2 separate regions of the Homo sapiens genome follow, and region 1 is linked to region 2. Evidence: promoter capture Hi-C in 16 types of primary human blood cells and fetal thymus (Javierre and others, 2016). All regions are on one chromosome and are shown on one strand. The core of a region is centred on a gene start or on the middle of the fragment in contact, and the rest is flanking DNA. Distances in the headings are between cores, read along the strand shown. Region 1 overlaps LOC105372649 (a long non-coding RNA gene). Region 2 holds the start of KCNB1 (potassium voltage-gated channel subfamily B member 1).

Evidence for each region. The method cuts DNA at HindIII sites, captures the fragments that hold promoters and counts their contacts. A CHiCAGO score of 5 or more calls a contact.
Region 1: a fragment that was not itself captured here is called in contact with the fragment with the promoter of KCNB1 in region 2 in 6 of 17 cell types (M2 macrophages, endothelial precursors, M1 macrophages and 3 more); the score reaches 12.4 in M2 macrophages.

What each region holds. Positions count from the first base shown.
Region 1 is chr20:49,348,576-49,354,581 of GRCh38, forward strand. The region is part of intron 2 of LOC105372649 (a long non-coding RNA gene); the gene reads left to right. Among named protein-coding and RNA genes, the nearest start is that of SNORD12, 71 kb to the left of the region's middle. The HindIII fragment of the contact is 8,591 bases long and covers 1-5,654 here.
Region 2 is chr20:49,478,389-49,483,943 of GRCh38, forward strand. KCNB1 (potassium voltage-gated channel subfamily B member 1) reads right to left here and starts at 4,280. Exons shown (of 2, transcript NM_004975.4): 1 at 3,526-4,280. The coding sequence starts at 4,092. The HindIII fragment of the contact is 15,223 bases long and covers 1-5,555 here.

The DNA of each region.
Region 1 (6,006 bases), core at 109-2,608, 130 kb before region 2:
TGGGCTGTGTGGAGCCAAGCTGCCTGGGTCTGAATCTCAGCTTTGCCTCTTCTGTGCCGTGGCATTTTGGGCAAGTGAGTTAATCTCTCGGTGCCTTAGTTCCCTCTAATGTAAAATAAGGTGGACAGTAGTACCTCATAGGACTGTTATGAGGATTAAATGAGATAATAGTCTCACGGCACTTACAATGCACCTTGCATTGTGCCTTAATTCTTGACATCAATCTACATCTGACTCTAGGTTGTCTTCTTGCTGGGGTAGTGGGAAATTTGGTCTCAATCATCCTCAGGGATCCCTACTTCCCTGGCTTTTGTCATTCATTCAACAAATACTTATTGAGCACCTACTGCATGCCACGTATTGTTCTAGAGGCTGAGACCACAGCAGTGAACAAAGCAAACAAAAATCCCTGGCAGAGTAGAGCTAACATTCTAGTAGGGATAGATAGACATTAAATATGACAAAAAGGAAAATAGATATTATATCAGATGACAATAAGAAGAAAAAGAAAGCAGGGCTGGAGGATTCCAACTGCAGGGGAGCTGTTGCAATTTTAGAAAAATTGATGCATGGGGATGTGAGTGTGTCAGGGAAGGCCTCACTGAGAGAGTAACCTTTGAGTACAACTTGAAGAAGGTAAAAGAGGGAGTCACAGGTTATTTGCAAGAGCATTCCAGGCAGAGGGAACAGTAAGCGCAAAGGCCCTGAGGCAGGAGCATGAGCATGTATGTGACTGTATCATGTAGTCATATCTCTTGGCAAGTCTGTGTGTGTGATGTTATGTGGCACACATTGGTGGCATATAGGTGGTTATGCCTGTCCACATGGGTGGCAATGCACATACATGTTTGTTCATGTACAGAGCTGCTGTGTTCAGTCACAGAGGCTGTGCCTGAACAATTCAGGGAGTGACATTCACACTGATTGCCATGAAATGGGACCCCCTGGTGTAGTGCAGCGCAGTGGCCCCGAGCATATATATAAGGAAATCAATGTAAAATGTCTGTGAAAATGTTCACACGTGTATGTGTCCGGATATTTAAATATAACGATATGCAAATATGTATATATGAATGTCTTTAAGATGTTGATATTTCATTCCTCATGGACTTTTGCTTCAGTATTGATTTTTAAAAAATATTGCATTAAGATATTATTTCTCTTGATTACTCAGTTTTTGGGTGCATCTTACATTTGCATCAGAGGCAAGTGCCTCACTCTCTTAATGCTGGTCCTCGCCCTGCCTTGGAGTTGGGCAATGAATGTGCGGGAGGCAGGGATGAGGCAAGGGAAGCCTCTCCTTCTGGCTCCTTCCAGCATCTGGGCTCATCAGCACATGACTAGAATCCAAACCTAATCTGAACACATTTTGTTCCTTTAAAACAAGATTTATTGAGTGCTGACTGTGCGCCAGGGACTCTGCATACATTATTTTATTTTATCCTTACCACCATCTCTGGGGGTAGATATTTGCTCATTCCATTGAACAGACATTTGCTTAGGGCCTACTATGTGCCAAGAGTATAAGCTGGCATTTGTGCTGGTCTGGCAGCCACTCCTGATTTTTCTGGTAAAAGCACCCCAGTTTTCCTTTAGGGAACCTAGCCTCTTCCCTTTACTGTCCAAGTGGTTTCACCTGGGCTTTCTGTACCCCTCCCTCAGACTCCAGGGGTGGGGGTGTGATCCAGGCGACCCAATCAGCATACTCCATCCCTTTTGCTCCAGAGATTAGTTATAGGACGAGTATCTAACCCAAGTTGGTTCAATCAGAGTGAATCCTGGGATTTTTGCTGCCCTGTTGGGAAAAAGAGCTCTCTTTTCATCAGGATTTCTAGCTGTGAGAATTCTGTAACCCTGGAATTCCCAGTGAGAGTCTACTACATGGAGAGAGAGAGAGAGAGGAAAAACTCATCCCTTATGACATCTTTAAAGCCCCTGGATCCAGCCACACCTGAAGTCAGTTACCCTAAGATTTTTCAATTCTGTGAGTTTATACTTGTTTTTCTTTTTAAAAGCCAGTTTGAGAGGGAAGCTGAAATCCTGTGCTTGGCATCTTTGTACATTATCTCCTTTAATTCAGAGATGAATCCCATGGGGAAGGGGCTCTGATTGTACAAGAACTGATCCTCAGGGAGGGAGGTGACTTATCCAAGGTCACAGCAGGTTGGTAGTTGGAGCTTGAATTCAAGCCCAGGTCTCTACTCCTGAGCCGTTCTGCCATTCCACATGGTCTGACCTCTGGACAAGAGGGTTTGTGTGAGTATTAGTGACATAGACCCGAGTCCTGTTATGGCCACTGTTTTGCTCTGTGACCTTGATCAAGTCATTTCTCTAATATGAGCCTCAGTTTCCCATCTGGAAAAATGGTAGTGCTTACCCCATCATGCTGTCGTGAGATGATCCATGAAAGTAAAGTACTCAGAACAGGGCTAGACATGCAGCAATGAACATAAACTATTATTACCATGGCTCTCTTTTTTTTTTTTTAGAAAATTTTTTTTTAAATTTCATAGGTTTTTGGGGAGTAGGTGGTATTTGGTTACATCTTTAGTGGTGATTTGTGAAATGTTGGTGCACCCATCACCCGAGTGGTATACACTTCACCAGAGCAGTATACACTGAACCCAATTTATAGCTTTCCATCCCTCACCCACTTCCCACCTTGCCCCGCAAGTTCCCAAAGTTCATTGTATCATTCTTATGCCTTTGCATCCTCATAGCTTAGCTCCCACTTATGAGTGAGAACATAATGTTGGTTTTCCATTCCTACCATGGCTCCCTCTTTGAGGGAAGAAAGGGGACCCAGGGGGCTCCCCGGCCACCCTGCTCCCATCCTCCCTGATGGCCACAGGCTCCCAGCAGCCCTTGATGGCACCTTCATCCATCTTCTGCCAGACACACAGAACTGGCTCGCTTACCCGGGAAGCAGGCACTTAAGGAGGCGCTTCCCCGCTTTCTCTTTTAATTTTCGTTACATAAATTTCACATTTCCTGGAATAGAGAGCTTGAATGTCTGGACTCATTTGGAAATCGAGTCAGCAAAGGGCCTCATTTATATTAATGGGGACTCGAGCCTGACTTGAGACGTGGCAGAGACAAGGATGGATGGCAGCAGCTCCTAGGCCCAGCCATCCAGGCTGAGCTCAGACACTGCCTTGAGAAGCAGATGCCTCCAGATTTAGGCTGGGACTGTTCTCGTTGTGTGGGGAGCTCCTGGATGCAAGGGCGGTGTTGTCACCCCTCCCCCACTGAAACTTCCCAATGGCTGCTCACTCTCTCAGAGGGAACTCCAGTCTGCTTATCCTGCTTGACAAGGGGCTGCGTGATGGACCCCTGCTAACCTCCCTGCTCCTGCCCACCACTCTCCTCCCTCATCCTTCTTCAGTCTGGCTGGCCTCCTGAGAGCATTCCTGCCTCAGGGCCTTTGCACTTGCCGTGCTCTCTGCCTGAAAGGTTGTTCTCCTAGCTCATCCCGTGGCTAGCTCCTTCCATGGCTTGTCTCACAGACAGCACCTCAGGGAGGCCTTCCTTGATTGCCCATCTGGAGAAACACTCTCCAGTTACTCTGTATCACACCCATTTCATTTTCTCCATCACACTGAGCAATAGTTTGTATTTTCTTGTTTACTTATTTGCCTATTTATTTATTGGCTGTCTTTCCCATGAGAGTATAAACCCCATTAGAGCACAGACTACGTGTCTCCTTCAGCTTTGTCCCCCTAGGATCTGGCTCAGAGAGACAGATTTCTTAAGCACCTTAATAAATATTTGTGGAATGAATGCCTGCACTCATTCAGCAAACCCTTTCTGAGTGCCTTCCTGGTGCCAGGCTCTATTCTGGGTGCTGGGAACACAGCTAAGAAAAAGACAAGAGGCAGGGCACGGTGGCTCACGCCTGTAATCGCAGCAATTTGGGAGGCCAAGGCGGGTGGATCACTTGAGGTCAGGAGTTTGAGACCAGCCTGGCCAACATGGTGAAACCCTGTCTCTACTAAGGATGGAAAAATTAGCCAGGTGTGGTGGCATGTGCCTGTAATCCCAGCTACTGAGGAGGCTGAGGCACAAGAATTGCTTGAACCTGGGAGGTGAAGGTTACAGTGAGCCGAGATCGTGCCACTGCACTCCAGCCTAGGCAACACAGTGAGACTCTGTCTCAATTAAAAAAAAAACAAAAACAAGACAAGATTGTTGGCTGCATGGAACTCGTGGTCTGGCGCAGAGAGGAAAACACCATAGTAACGAACATTTATTGAGTGTGACAAGGATTTTACAAAGAGACATCACATTTAATCCTAACTACAGCCCTTGGAACTATTATTTGTACCAGTTCATGAGGCACAGAGAGGTGAAATAGCTTGCTCAAGGCCATACAGTTAGAAAACAGAGGAGCCAAGATTGTGGCCAGGCCATCCGGCTCCCCACTCTGCTGGTTTAACAAGCTCACTGAAGCCACTGGGAGTTAAAGCCTTGTGCTGTGAAACCTGTGATGGGGGAGGCTCTGAAGGCTGTGGGAGCCCAGAAAAAGCACCTGACCTATTAGGCTGGTGCAAAAGTAATTGTGGTTCTTGCCATTGAAAGTGATGGCAAGAACTGCAATTGCTTTTCACAACCTAATAGCTTTTGATAGGAGAAAAGATGAGCAAAGCCTCCTGAAAGATGCAGTACCTTAGTTGTGTCTAGAATGTATTTATTTTTAACTTTACATTATAGCTTAAGAACTTTTAATATCTCCATGCTGTCCACAGTTAAAATTTTAAGTAATGCATATTATTCCAGTGAGAGGCAGCACCATCCATCACTGTTGGGGAGTTTCATGCTTGCAATTTTGAGGTTCTCTTTAATGCTTTGAGGACCAACACCCTGGACTTACTGGAGTAATGTAGCGCTCAGGTTTCGGCTCCTCCCTTTACTTGGCTCTGAGGATTCTACATGCCTGGAACAAGGCACATCTCCAAAGTCACTAACGTGGCTAGATAATGGATAACTAGAAGTGCCTGCCCCCTCCACCATCCTTGTCTTGATGCCAGGTGAGATCCAGGCTCCTCTGCCCCAAGAAGGGCTGAGCTTACATTATCTCCAGCTCAGCAGGTCCTTGGAAATTAGGTTGTTTTAAGGAAATAAAGAAATGTGATATTTCAACAAGACACTAGGAACAGCGGTTGCCTCTGCAGAGGGAAACTGGGTGGCCAAAGGATGGGGTAAGAGGGAAATTTTCGGGCCAGGCGCTGTGGCTCACACCTGTAATCCCAGCACTTTGGGAGGCTGAGGCGAGTGGATCCCTTGAACTGAGTCCAGGAATTCGAGACCAGCCTGGACAACATGGCCAAACCCTGTCTCTACAAAAAAGCCCTTCAAAATTAGCTGGGTCTGGTGGTGCATGCCTGTAGTCCCAGCTACCTAGGAGGCTGAGCTTGGAGGATCACCTAAGCCTGAGAATTTGAGGCTCCAATGAGCTGTAGTTGCACCACTGCACTCCAGCCTGGGTGACAGAGACCCTGTCTCAAAGAAAAAAAAAAAAAGGAGATTTTCTTTGCAGATCCTTTTATATCTTTCCCATTGGGCACCACGTGAAATTATTACCGAGTTTAAAAAAAACTTTTTTTTAAAAAATGTAGAAGTTAATGTATTATTTCTGCATATCGGTCTGTGGACTAAGCTTTATACGATGCATTCATTCTCTTTATTTACCTCAAATGTGGGAAGTAGCTATTATTGCCTCTTCCTGACAACAACAAAAAAAGCCTGAGGACTGGAGATGGGCTGTGCCTTGCCCAAGGTCACATGGTGAATTAGTGCCAGAACTGAGACTCCACTGGGTGCAGTGGCCCACGCCTATAATCTCAGTACTTTGAGAGGCTGAGGCAGGTAGATCGCTTGAGCCCAGGAGTTTGAGACCAGCCTGGGCAACATGGTGAGACCCTGTTTCTACTAAAATAAAAAATACAACAGTTAGCTAGGCATGGTGGTGTGCAATGTAGTCCCAGCTACTTGGGAAGCTGAGGCAGG
Region 2 (5,555 bases), core at 3,030-5,529:
CTTCTAAACAAGAATCAATCACACTGCCTTTTGCCTAATGGGTTTTGATTTTCGCTCCCCTGATGGCAAAGCCTAGGGCCTGTGCTTTGGTTTGTCTCCGAGTTGCCAGAACATCCCATCAATTATTAACAGTGTCAGCTCAGTCTCCCTGGCCCTGCTGCTCTCAGAAGGAAAGGGTTTGCAGCAACTCGGCCCACCCAGCCCTAGAAAAAAGACTCTTTTCCTTAGCATTTATAACAACAATCCCCACCTGCTATGTGCTAGGCTTTGAGCAAAATTTTGACAAATGTGATTTAATGAAGACCCTGTAAGGTGAGCCTTTTATCTCCATTTTACAGGTGGAAGGTTGGGACTTGGAAAGTTGGAGAAATTAGCTAAAAGCTATGGAAGTGGGGAGTGGCACAGAACCAGATCCATCCTTGCTCTTCAGCATATGAGATATGGCCACTTTTGTATCTTACAATCACCTAGAAATGATCCTCCATTTGGTCCTGTCACTCTGTGAGTTCTAAGCAATTTCCACAGGCTTTGCTTGTTTTGACAAGCAAGGCATCCAAGCTGGGGGGATGGGTGGGGATGGGATGGGCAAGGTGCAGATGACTCAAAGGAGGCCAGAGGCACAGGGACCTGGGTTGCAGGTGGGCAGTGAGAAGGGGTGACAGGTCCCCAAACCCTGAGACACAGTGACTGACTGCTTGCTTGCTTGCTTGATTCATTCATTCGTTCATTCATTCATTCGTTCATTCATTCATTTATTCATTCCACATGCTCCTCAGTGCCAGGCACCATCATGGGTGCTGGGAATCAAGCAGTGAATCAACTCATGGTACTCACATTCTTGTGGGTGTGAAACAGAGACACACAAAGAAGGAAATATAATTTCAGATGGCGTTTAAGGCCTCTGCAGGAAAGGCATTGCATGATGCAACAGAGAGTGAGGGGAGGGAAACTGTTTAGAACAGCGGTCAAGGAAGGTCTGTATGAGGAGGGGACATGTGAGCAGGGACCTGCTCAAATGAGGAAGGGGGAGAAGGGGCTGGCCAAGGGGGAATCTGGGGAAGAGCATTCCAGGCAGCGGAAACAGCAAGTGCAAGGGTCCTGAGGTCAGATAAACTCTGGCCTGTTTATGGAACAGCAAGGCCAGTGGGGCTGGAGCCAAGTGAACCAGAGGAGATCAAAAGAGATGAGCCCAGAGAGGTCATGGGGGCCAGATTCTGCCTGGGCCTTGTATGCCAGGATGAAAAGTCTGAATTTTATTTTGAGTGTGATGGGAAACTTCTGGAGGATTTTAAGCAGATGAATAATGTGATCCAATTTACATTTTGAAAAGCTCACTTTGGCTGCTATGTGGGGAATGGATTGCAGGGGCAAAAGTGGAAGCCGGGAGACTGGGGAGGAGGCTGCGGCACTTGATCATTATAGAAAGAACACTCGGTTTGGATTTCTGGCTACTCCTGACTGCCTGTGGTGTGACCTTAGGCAAGTTACTTAACCTCTTTCAGCCTCACTGTTTGCGAAAGGTGGGATAATAACAGAGCTGCGTTGTTACACTCCATACACAGTAGGTGTTTGATCATTGGCAGCCAGGATTTCTATTCTGAGGGCCAGTGAGCCTGCCTCCCTCCCCATTTCAGCTCTGGCTACAGAAAATCCTAGATGGTCCATCTGCCAGGAATGTGAGCTGGCAGCCCCAGACTGGGATCATGGAGAGGTCACAAGGCTGTCCCTGCTAGCGGATTAACCCAAGGGAGAGGAGAGGTTCTTTATTCCCAAACAGCACCTCTTGCAAGCCCCGGTGCTTGGGTCTTGCTGCCAGACCAAAACATGGCCCTGTGCCTGCTTCTTCTCTGGGAGGGCAAATTGTCCAGTTCCCTGTACCTTGTTCTCATGTCTTAGGGATGGGACAGGGAGGGAGAGTCACATTTGGGCCTAAATGGGATGTGCAGTGGGAGAACCTGTGTCATGCCTGGAAATAGCAAAATAAGTCTGTTGATCCTAAGCTGATTAAGGGTGAGTGACTCTGTCTTAGGAGGAGGCTTTTTGGACACAAAATTGGGGGCGGGATTATGGAGAGAGACAGCCCACAGCCTCAGAGGAGGAAGCCAGGCCCAGGAGCCTCTACATCCTTGTTAGGGCCAACAGGGAAACGAAAAAAACACGTGGGGGCTCCCTCCACCCTCTTACCAGCCACCCCTTCTCCATCCACTCTCAGGGGCCTCTCCTTGGGTGGCTAGATCTGGAGGAAGGACCCCACGGAGTCTCCCTTCAGACTGGGACCTGCAGGTGGGCCTTCAGTGAGAACTGAGCCGGAGACCCCACAATGAAAGGCTGGGCTGGACAGGAGTCAGCCCTAGCTAGTAAGATATGGCTGGATATTTAGGCTTCCTCCTCTCCTCTTTCTTTTACCACAAATCTACTTACCTGACCCCTTTTTTTAGGCCCCACACTCAGTTACATTCTCCCCATGTTTCCCAAGTTGGTCTTGCTGGATTTCAACATCAACATCTCTCTTTTCTGGGTTCTCCGTGAACCTCACAGAACCTCTTTTATAGCCTTGCACACACTGTTTTGTCATTTGCTCCCAGCACCCAGCACTTCGGGCACATGAAGACAGGCCCCATCTTTCCCAGGCAACCCCAAATCCCAGCCTGACGTAGAGAAGTTGCTGATCAACCAGTGCCCTCCTGCCCTGCCTTGGCTCCCACCCCAAGCCTTCCTCAGTCCCCTACAGCCCCTGCCATTACCCAGCAGCACCAAAGACTCTCTGGCCCACTCTTTGTGTTCAAACTCATTCCTGCCTCCTCCTCCTCCTCCTCCTTTATTTTTCACATTGCCTCATTTTTCTCTCCTATTTTGAAATTTACATCTTGTTCCAAGAGCTGAAACATCTTTACAAGCTGCACCAAACCATTCTGGAAATAAACTCACCAAATAAATAAGTAACCAGGGGGTGACCCCTCACCCGCAAGCATCCACAACCAACTGCATGTGTCGTGTGGGTCCACACCCACCCCTCGGGGTCCCTTCTTACTTATGTTTAAACTATCTGACAGTATCTCAATGTCCTGTAAGCATGTCTGTAAGCTGCTTTTTTCCCTTGCTGGGGCAGAGTGAGGTTATAAATATGGAGATATTAAAATCACAGGGTGATCCAATCCAGCCTAGGTCTGGGACTTCACAGGGAAGCAAACCCTACTCCACCCCAGCAAGCCACTGTTGTCTCTCTGTGCTCTCTCTCTTATTCGTCAGTGTCCATCTTCTTGCTGTGGCTTTTTATGGGTCCCTGTGAAACCTCTCCAACCAAGTAGGGGTATAACGTCTTGGATAATAAAAAGATGGAGTGACCAGTGCCACATGGGAAAAGTCTGAGGGGGTTGGTCCTCACCTCTGGGGACTCAGTCCTAGCCCCTCCCCATTACTAATCTTCATCGTTGGGAACAAAGCCAGAGTCCTCCAGCAGTGGTCCTCAATATGGGGATGCAAGCAGATCCCCCCAGACCAGCAGCCCCCAGATCCCAGACTCACCTTGGCAGCCACAGAGGAATTGGGCTTCTCCAGTAGGTCCCAGAGTTTTTTCCTCTTCTCTGCGCAGCACGTGTTATCGAACTCCTCGCCTTCCCGCTCCCGTAGGGTCTCGGCCTCACGCTTGAGCTCCTCGTTCATCTGCTCTTTCTTCTGGTGGTAGCGGGCCTGGCAGCAGGACTCCAGGTAGATCTCGTCGATGCCCCAGTAGTCGAGCTCTTGGCTGAAGCTGAGCGCGCACATCTCCTCCATCATGTGCAGTCGCCCAGTGCGGTAGAAGTTGAGGATGGAGGTGAAGGCGCCCGGGTGGCGGTCAAAGAAGTACTCGTTGTCGTCGAGGCTGTAGTCATCGCACACCTCGAGCAGCGAGTCGTGCGTGTTGCAGTCGCGGAGCTTGCCCAGCCGCGTGCGGGGCAGGCGGTCCAGGGTACGCCAGAGTACCTCGTGCGCCAGCCCCCCGACGTTGAGGCGGACCCGCCGAGAGCACGCCTTGCTGCGCACGATCTCCATGGGCTCGGGCGGCAGCGAGCTGGTGGAGCGGGAGCCATGCTTCGTCATGCCCGCCGGCATCGCTGATCCGGCCGCCCCCGCCCCCCCTGCCCCCCCAGGCCGCTGTCACTCGACGGCAAGGCCCGCTGCTGCGGGGGAGGGGGGCAGGGAGCGCTGTGGGCTGCTGGGGGTGCAGGGGGCCCCGCGGGCGCGCGTCACGGCCGTCTTCTCACCTCCATCCCGACGGCTGCGAGGCAGAAAGCGAAAGCGGACGCGGGTCAGCAAACGGGGAGCTGGGCATGCTGTCCCCCCGCCCCCCACCTCTCCACCAGGCTCCCAGCCGGCCTTGACCTTCCCCCGCGCTTAAGCGGCTCAGTGGGGTAGGACGGATGGTCGCTGTCCCTCCCGCCGGTGCTGAAGTCCGCCGCACCCCATGGATGGAGGGAGGGGCCGCCCCTCGGGGCGGGGAGAGGGCCCCAAGAGATGCCCCTGGAGCCCGGGAGGCCCCACCCTGGGCTTCTGCGGCCCAGGCGCGACCCAGCCGCCCGGGGCGCTGTCCGCCCCTTAGAGTGCTGAAACTCTCTTCATTATGGGTCTCCCGATCGAGTCCCGAACCTGGCCCCGCCATGGGGAGAGAGGGGGAGCTGCATGAAAACTTTCTTTCTTTATCTTTTTCTTTCTTTCTTCTTCTTCTTTCCTTCTTTTTTTTTTTTTTAACGAGTTCTCTTCTTTTCCTTCCCCTTCTCGAGATAATCAAGATTTTGGGGGTGGGGGAATGGCAGCGGGCTTTTTTCCAAATCTTAAAAGATTTGGGGGAATTCCGGGGGTTCCAGGTGCCCACCTGTCCGAGGTCACAACAGACGGGGTGTGCACAACAGCCCCTCTGTCCTGGAGCGACCCCTCTTCCCAAACACTGGAGCATCTCCTGAGATTGCTCCAGCGACAAGGTGAGCCGCGAGGAGGAAAAGCCCGCTCTCGCCTCTCCCTCTGAGCCCCCAACCCTACCGCAGGAGGGGCGGGCAGAGTCCTCGGGATCCGCCTGCTCCGTCCTCCCCTCGCTCCTTCCCCGCCCCCTTCTCCTCCTTCTCCTCCCCCTCCTCTTCCTTCTCCCCCTCCTCCTCCTCTTCCTCCTCCTCCTCCTCCTCCTCCTACTCCTCCTCCTCGTTCCTCTCCCGCGATGGCTTTTTATAACTCCGGGTTCTGCGCCTTTCCCCGGGCTTGGAAGGGAAGGGGTGGGGGAGGTGGGAGGCGGGGAAATGAGCTAAATTTTCTGGCCTTTTCAAAAGGTGCCATCCTCCTACCGCGCACTAGTGATTTCGGGGGGTTCCCCTGAGCACCCCCTGCATGTAGGGCTCACGCCTTAGCCCCAGAATGGGGATTGCGCGTCCCCTCAGGCCTCAGCCCTTGCCTGCCTCCCACCCCGCTCCCCTCCAGCCTGGAGCTGCGGAGCCCGAGCAGACCAACAGGCCGAGCTGCGGCAGGCAAACCCCCTGTCCGTGTCCCCATGCACCCCCACGGAAGGCCGTACGCCCCAACACTCACCC